Regions from separate parts of the Homo sapiens genome. Here region 1 is linked to region 2. The links are contacts of gene promoters, found by promoter capture Hi-C in blood cells and fetal thymus (Javierre and others, 2016). All regions are on one chromosome and are shown on one strand. Each heading gives the region's core, a stretch centred on a gene start or on the middle of the fragment in contact. The rest is flanking DNA. Distances are from core to core; before and after follow the strand shown.

Region 1 (4,411 bases), core at 356-2,855, 690 kb after region 2:
AAATGGTAGCAGTGTTGGAGGGACCCTAACCTACAGTCTCTCTGAACCACAGGAATGACTATTGGTCTATTATATGCAGAAAGCTGTCACAGGCTAGTGGGCATTAGCTTGACTATAATGGCCCTATTAGTTGCTCTAAAACACAAGAAAATCCCCACTCCATCAGGTGTAAAGAGCTTAGTTTCCAAAGTTAATCCTGAAAGACATAATCAACATTCACACTGACAGTGTCTTTCCTGATATCTTAAGTCTACAGGCTATTAAAAGCCAGCAGCTACAACACATGGCACATTGGTCAGATTCTAAGATTCTAGTGAATTCAGACTTAAATAATTTTGTGAGCATGTTTACCCTATCTGCTTATATGATATAAACAGAGAATGTGTGTAATAGACTGGGGTAAAAACACCCTGGAATTTACTGTTCTAGGCTTAGGTACTTTATAGTTTTGGACCTTAGAGAAAAATTATTTAACCCTCGTGGCTTTAGTTTCCCCATCTGTAAAAATGACAATAGTAATCCTTAAGCTTCATAGTTCTGCTATTAGGGAAAAAGCATCTCATTGTAGCCATGTGTGCATGAGAAAAAGTCATGAAATAGCATACAAAAGTAAGGGAATATACTAATTATCTTTCTAAAAACACACTGCAGCATGATCTTCGGAAGCAGCAGGCTGCAGTACACTGACCAGGGGCCTCCTGCTCAGCAAGGTCTGGGAAAACTCCGCACATCGGTTTAGCATGGCTTCTAGCAAAGCCTGCAGTTCCCCATACTGCACAGGTGGAGTGCTCTGATGGTCCTTCCTGCATCCAGAGAGACAAAAGCAGGTTCACGGTAAGGCAACGGTATTCCCAAGATAACCCCAGGTTCTCAGGCAATGAGAGGCAGTGCAGTTGGATCAGAACATGGAATCTAATCTGATAAAAATCCTTACTCCAGGCCAGGAATGGTGGCTCACGCCTGTTAATTCCAGCACTTTGGGAGACTGAGATGAGTAGATGTCTTGAGTCCAGGAGATGGAGACCAGCCTGGGCAACATGGTGAAACCCAGTCTCCACAAAAATTAGCCAAGTGTGGTGGCATACACCTGTGATTTCAGTTACTCAAGAGGCAGAGGTGGGAGGATCACCTGAGCCCAAGAAGGTAGAAGCTGCAGTGAGCCGTGATCATACTACTGCAATCCAGCCTGGGTGACAGAACAAGACTTTGTCTCAAAAAAATCCTTACTTCAATGCTTATCTAACTGCACAACTTCTTGTACATTCCTTGCCCTCTCTAACCATCAATTTCCTCATCTATTAAATGAGGCTAATAGTACTCTCCTCATAGACTTATTATGGGGATCAAATTCGATAATGTATGCCAAACACTTAGCATGATGCTTAATACGTAATAAGTCCTTATAAATGTCAGCTGTGTCTATTATTACTATTAAGGATACAAGGTTTTCTCGCAGAGGAGAGCCTGCTGGTAAAAGAAGCACTACCTAGAATTGAACGTGCATCAAGAGAGTGACAGCTACTGTTTTCCAATAAGTAATAAGCTCTTCTGGGGAAGAGGGATCAAACTTTGTTAACTCAACGAGGAAAACCAGGATCAACAGGTAAATGTTACTAAGATCCAGAGATGGAGTCTCACTCTGTCACCCAGGCTGGAGTGCAGTGGTGTGATCTTGGCTCCCTGCAACCTCCATCTCCCAGATCCAAGCAATTCTCCTGCCTCAGCCACCTGAGTAACTGGGACTACAGGCGCACACCACTACACCCAGCTAAGTTTTGTACTTTTAGTAGAGATGAGATTTCACCATGTTGGCCAGGCTGGTTTCAAACTCCTGACCTCAAGTTATCCACCCACCACAGCTTCCCAAAGTGTGGGATTACAGGCATGAGCCACTGCACCCAGCCTGAGAACTTTCTTTTCTCTTTTTTTTTTTTTTTTTTGAGATGGAGTCTCGCTCTGTCACCAGGCTGGGGTACAGTGGCGCAATCTAAGCTCACTGCAACCTCTGCCTCCCGGGTTTAAGTGATTCTCCTGCCTCAGCCTCCCAAGTAGCTGGGACTACAGGCGCACGCCACCACACCCAGTTAATTTTTGTATTTTTAGTAGAGACGGGGTTTCTTGACCTCATGATCTGCCGCCTCAGCCTCTCAAAGTGCTGGAATTACAAGCGTGAGCCACCACGCCCAGCATCAGCCTGAGAATTTTCTGAGTCAAAGTCTATAGAAGTATTGGGGACCATCTCTAGGGAGAAGTGATTCCCCATTCTATGAGACTATACGCAGAGACTGGAAAAGTACTTTTGGAGATTCAATCATTATGAGTGTGGGGTAAATGTAGACAGGTAACACCTAAGGCCCATTTGAACCCTCAGATTCTATAGACTCAGAAGAGCCAACAGTCATTGACTAGTTTAATTGTGAGTTTCCAAGAGGAAAGGGACCAGTTCCATCTTTTCACTTTACCTAAACAGAGACAGATGCATTGTAAGTTGATGATTAATAGAACAGATGTCAAATGAATGAATGACTATTTCACAGGGTATTGGTTTCTTAGGGCTGCTATAATAAATTACCACAAACTGTGTGGCTTAAAACAACAGAAGTTTATCCTCTCACAGTTCTGGAGGCTAGAAATCTGAAATTGAGGTGTCGTCAGGGCCATGTCCCCTCTAAAGCAAGCTTGTCCCACCCACAGCCCACAGGCCGCATGCAGCCCAGGACAACTTTGAATGCAGCCTGACACAAATTTGTAAACTTTCTTAAAACATTATGATATGAAACCCTGTCTCTACTAAAAATACAAAATTTAGCTGGGCATGGTGGCGCGTGCCTGTAATCCCAGCTACTCGGCAGGCTGAGGCAGGAGAATCGCTTGAACCAGGGAGTTGGAGGTTGCAGCGAGCCAAGATCACATCACAGCACTCCAGCCTGGTGACAGAGCAAGACCCTCATCCCTGAGCCTTTGTTGAGCACTGAGAGCCATCTGTTGGGCCTTCTAACAGGTTCTCAGTCAACTGCATATGGTTACGGCTTGATTTCCCCTTTCCTTCTTCATCTCTGGAAGCTCCAAGTTTGACGATCCTACACGATCATCAAGCCCTAGTTCCACCACCTTTAAATTCTTGGGTTTGTTTTTGTTTTTGTTTTTGTTTTTGAGACAGGGTCTCGCTCTGCTGCCCAGGCTGGAGTGCAGTGGCACAAACACAACTCACAGCAGCCTCAATCTCCTGGGCTCAAGCAATCTTCCTGCCTCAGCCTCTTGAGTAGCCGGGACTACAGGCATACACCAAGCTTGGATAATTTTTGTAGAGATAGCGTTTCCTCAGGTTATCCAGGCTAGTCTCAAATTCCTGAGCTGAAGCGATCCTCCAGCCTCAGCCTCCCAAAGTGCTGGGATTACAGGTGTGAGCCACTATACCCGGCCTCTTTAAATTCTTTTTAGCAGCTCTCACTCTTCATTCTTCCTTCTAGTTGTGCTTTCCAAAGACACTCTGAACCACCCCACCTCAGAGGGACCACGTCAGTAAACATTCTGGGAAGTTAAAGTCAAAAGTAAAATCATCTTTGGCCGGGCGCGGTGGATCACGCCTATAATCCCAGCACTTTGGGAGGCTGAGGCAGGCAGATCACAAGGTCAGGAATTCGATACCAGCCTGGCCAATATGGTGAAAACGCATCTCTACTAAAAATACAAGAAGTATCCAGGCGTGGTGGCGGGCACCTGTAGTCCCAGCTACTCGCGAGGCTAAGGCAGGAGAATCGTTTGAACCTGGGAGGTGGAGGTTGTGGTGAACCGAGATCGAGCCACTGAACTCCAGCCTGAGCAACAGAGCGAGACTCCACCCCCCCCACCAAAAAAAAAGTAAAATAATCCAAGGCTTAATAACCTGCCCCCTATCCATCTCTCTCCACAATTCTGACCCAACAGCTTTCCTGCTTCTCCAGGCAACACCCGCTTCATGTAACCTGCTGGTCAACTGGCTACTGCACCCTGAGCAATCTCTATACTCTCGAACCCAAATGTTTTGCTAATCCAGGTCCTTCCACAAATCTAACTCTCACCCTTCATAGTACAACTGAAATACCACTTCCTGCCCAAAAGGCACTACTGGTCCCCTCTAGCAGTGTCCTGCTGGAAGACTTCCAGCTCAGCATAGATGCCTCTGATTGACATTGCTCTTACTTATGCTTTTGTTACCTTGTTGGTTTACTCATCCCTCCCACTCTAGAATTCATGTCCTAGATTTAGAGATTCAAATTCAGGGAAGGACAAAGGAGGAAAGAAGACAGACTGAAGTCACTGTCACGTAAATGCTATTTTTTGTTTCAATTTTTAGAACCAACCTAGAGTCAAATCACAAAGACTTAAATATAGTTACAGAAGAGACTATAAATATTAACAACTTTCACAA
Region 2 (4,099 bases), core at 1,159-3,658:
AGGCCTAGCTCGAAGGCTGTGCCACTGAAGCTGCCCCTGGGACACCCACAGAGCCTCCTCATTCCTCTGCTCCGCCTTCAGCCTTTGGGGCCTTTACTGTTTATTCACAGCTCTGGCTGAGGGCACAGGAGAGGAAGCACATGAGAGGTGCTAGAAAGTTTTGGTAGAAATGAGGCTCCTGGATGCGCTGCGGTTTTATTTCTATCCCCCTGGCTCCCGAGGAGGATCAGGGCCAGACACGAGGCCCCGACAGCGCAGCCAGGGCTGCTGGGCTCCTTGCCAAGGTGCGTCCCTGCCTCTCCCCAGGAGGCTGCGTGGCTGCAGAGCGTCTCAGAAACTGGGCAATGAGCTGGGACCCTCAGCTGCTTCTTGTCCAGTCATGTCTGCGCTCCACAGCCCAGGGCCTGCCTGGGGAGTATGCACGCCTCCTCCCACCCTGCCTCCCAGAGGCTACCCCTTCCCTTGAGGCCTCTTGTGCACCAGCGTGGTGTTGGGCACCTGCCTTCATATCAAGCCTGGAGGAAGGCTTCTCCCTGCCTTATGCTCACCCATCCGTCCATTCCTGCACCCCCTGGGCCAGGCTCAAGAAGGAGAGGGGAGGAAGACAGGCAGCTCAGGCAGGCAAGCGTGGAAACCAGGTGTGCAGCAGGCTAGACCCAGACTCAGAGGCGGCAGAACTCCCGGGAGTCCGAGGTACAGAGTTGGGGTGTGGGGGGCACCGTGACAGGCTGAGAGGTAGGGTCAGTGAGCTGGCACAGGGGCAGGAGCGGAGGCGGCACCAGGGCTGGAAGAGCAGGCTCCCTTGTTCCGAGGCAGTTTGGCATTCAGCTGCCTCCCAGTGCCAAGTCGTAATGAGACTTGTAGAGGCACAGACCGATGCTTTTCCAATGCTCCCCGTGTACCCTGAGGCATTGACACGAGGTCTATCACCATGGCATCAAGGTGCTTAGACAACCTGCTACTCCCAGGAGCCAGGAATAGCGTGAAGCAGCGGGTCTGCATCTCACTGTGACATATGTGAGCATGTATCACTGTGATGGATCAACAGTCAATAACACTGGGGTCCCCGCCTGCCCCCTGCGCGGTAGGAAACTTCTCCTGTTCATATGTCTTCCTCCCCTGGTGGGCGGCCCCTGCTCTTGCCAGCCTCCCAGTGCTCGTGGCATTGGTGGAAACGTCTTTAGGCTTTCACTGTTCATGTTTGGAGCAGCCCAGGGAAAAGCATGTGTGCAAAGAACTGAAATGGATCTCATGATGCCGTCACCGGGGGCTGCAGCTGGACACACCTGAGCAGGCAGTAGCAGGGTGGGAGAAGGCTCGGACATCATACCACTGGCAGTTCAAATGCCCGCCCCACAGACCTGCCCTGATCCTAGGCATGTTGTTTTGCCTCCTGGGGCCGAGGTCTTCTCTTTTGTACAACTGGGATCATCACATTTATCTGGTGAGTGAAGGGACACCTGCAGAGAAGGGAGGTAAGCGCTCAGCATGCGCTGAAACTCAGCCACCTTCCCGCCTGCGTCTTCCATGTACCAGGTGCCTCCAGCTCCACCAGCCATCACCACACCCCAGCCCCTTTCCTCTGCCACTCCAGACACGCAGGCAGATGTGTGGGTGCCAAGGGTGAGGGGCTCCCAGTCTGCTGGGGAAGGGGGTCCCGGCAGCAAACAATTCCTGTCCCCGGCTGATGCTGCTAGAAGTGAGAGCAGGGGCTGTGACCTGCAGCCAATGGGGAAGCAGTTCGAGGGTCTCACAGTTGGGAGGCCGAGTGAGCTAAGCTTTAGGGCAGCCACAGGGAGGAGCTGACGTTAGAGATGGACCAGAGAGGAGGCGTCTCCTGGGCCTCTGCAGGGGACCCACAGAGGTTCTCGCTGGGTGAATGATGGGCAGCCTGCCTTTCACCTGCCCTGGGTGTTTGGCCCTCTCTAGGGCTGGGAACATGAGGCTCCTGCCCTTCACCCCAGCCTCCCTACCACCCCTCACCAAAAAACCTACCTTTGGTAAACACATTATTAAGGGATTCTCAGAATATTTTAGAGAAGTTTGTGTGAACATGCTTGTGGTCGTTTTAAAAGTGTTTCAGAAGTGAGAGGCTAAACCAAGGCCCGAAGTCACTCATGGAAATCCCATGATCCCTCTGCACAGTTACCAGTGTCTCCTGGACGGGGCCCCTGCTGGAAAGGGGCCGAGACAGGGTGAAGCCCACCAGGGGTTGGAGTGGGGAGGCTTGGGTCCCGTCTCCAGCTCTTCTTCTGGTTGTGTGGCCTGGACCAGTCTCAGTGCCAGGTTCCTCATCTGGCGGCCACCCTGCTGGGCTGTTCCAGCTTTGCTTCTGAGCGGAAGGTCAGGGGCTGCCAGGGAGGAGCTTCGTGGGGAAAGCAAAGGGGAAGCTGTCAGCGCCGGCCGTCCCCTCCTGTGAACTAAAGAGTCGCCGCAGACAAGCAGGCCCCCAGATGGAGAACCAGCCTGTGAGGTGGCGGGCCCTGCCAGGCCTCCCACGCCCTCCTGGGCTCCCCGCAGCCCCCTGGCTCCTCCTTGGCGTGCTGCTGCTGCCCGGGACCCTGCGACTGGCAGGTAGTGTCTGTCTTCCTCCTTCTCTCTACTCTCTCGCTCCAGAACATCAGAGCGGCTTTCATCCCGCCCGGCGCAGCTAATTCCCAGGGACCTGTCTCTGGGGATTTGCTGGTTGTCGTTTGAACGCTGCAGACTTCACAGGGGAAGCCTTCTGGGACCGAGAAGATGTTTAGCTAATGCCTTGCCAAGGTGGCTTTTGAAGGGGAGGGGGACAGCGCTCTCTCCCTCGCTGCTGTGACAGCTTTGCCCCAGCAGTCTGGCCTCCTGGCCCTTAAACAAGGAGGGTGGGCGCTGTGTGGCTGGGGCCAGGGGCGGGGCAGGGGGGAGGGACAGCTCCCCATCCGAGGAACCTCACGTGGCTGCTGCGGGGGACACTGCGTTGAACCTGGCAAGTGGTGGGGCTACCCTCTGGGTTGTTGCTGGCATTGGCCAGGGAGAGCGGGGAGAGGGGGGAGGGGGGGATACCAGGGCCAGCCACAGGGCTCTGCGCCCAGAGGCACAAAACTGTCAGTCACCAGAAAGGGTCTCACCTCCCAGTTCCTGAAACACAACCAGAGGCCAAGTGTTTTAGGATGCAAGTGTGTCTTTCCACGCCAGCGGCGCTCCTTTCCTGGTTCCAGGCTTTCTTGGAAGCTGGGTGGCCGGGATCCGAGCCAAGCTGTGGGGTAGGTAGCCTCAGGGCCAGTTCATCAGGCCAGGGACGGCCCAGGAGGGTCCCATTCCAGGGCTGCCAGCACGAGGGCTCAGTGAATTCTGCCAGATTCTCTCTGCCCCTCCTTGGCCGGGCAGCAGCCAACCCTCCCTCTGGCCAAAGGGGTGGCCTCCACTGTGGAGACAGGGTGCCTTCCTTTCTATTCTCTTAGTTTATGGGGCTTTCAAGAGCTGCCCCCACCCTGTCCTGCTGCACCCCCTCTCATGACCACAAATTAGGCTTTATGGAGCCCTTAGCAGGGCACGTACTGGCCACCCTCACAGCACCCCTTGGGGCTCCTATTGTCCTCACCTGCACCATTTTAAGGACAGGGAAAAGGAGGCCCAGGGAAGCCAGTTCGTTTGCTCAAGACCTAGCCGGTAAGTAGAGGCCAGCCTCAGCCCCAGGCCAGCCTCAGCCCCAAGCTGGGCCCCTCGGCCAGTAGGCTCAGAGGATCCTCTTACTTGTAAAGAATGTTCTTCACCGGAAACTTACCCTGGGGAGGCAAAGGCTGACCTGTGTGTACCTCCCCAGGCTGCAGCCCAGAGCCCTAGGACACCATCTCCTTTAATCCTGTGCACGCCTCGCCCCACACCCCAGACAGTTGGTGCAAACACGGCCAGACCCCGGAAATGCAGCCTGTTAGTGTCAATGTGTCTCAACTACAGTCATTTTTAATTTAATTTCCCCCCAATTCCCATCCTTTCCCTTTGTGTGGTTCCTCCTCCCCAAAAGACACCCAGCACACCCTGGTAACCGAGCAGTAAGAGGTTTTATGGGGTGCTACTGGGGAAAAGCTCTTTTGTAACAGTCTCAACTATAACAAAACATTCC

Evidence for each region. The method cuts DNA at HindIII sites, captures the fragments that hold promoters and counts their contacts. A CHiCAGO score of 5 or more calls a contact.
Region 1: a contact is called between a fragment that was not itself captured here and the fragment with the promoter of NFAM1 in region 2, in 6 of 17 cell types (activated CD4 T cells, total CD4 T cells, non-activated CD4 T cells and 3 more). The highest score is 8.1, in activated CD4 T cells.

Annotation. Positions count from the first base shown.
Region 1 is chr22:41,739,472-41,743,882 of GRCh38, reverse strand. MEI1 (meiotic double-stranded break formation protein 1) reads right to left here. Exons shown (of 31, transcript NM_152513.4): 12 at 689-803. Among named protein-coding and RNA genes, the nearest start is that of MEI1, 42 kb to the right of the region's middle. The HindIII fragment of the contact is 2,151 bases long and covers 530-2,680 here.
Region 2 is chr22:42,430,712-42,434,810 of GRCh38, reverse strand. NFAM1 (NFAT activating protein with ITAM motif 1) reads left to right here and starts at 2,408. Exons shown (of 6, transcript NM_145912.8): 1 at 2,408-2,574. The coding sequence starts at 2,454. The HindIII fragment of the contact is 8,354 bases long and covers 1,781-4,099 here.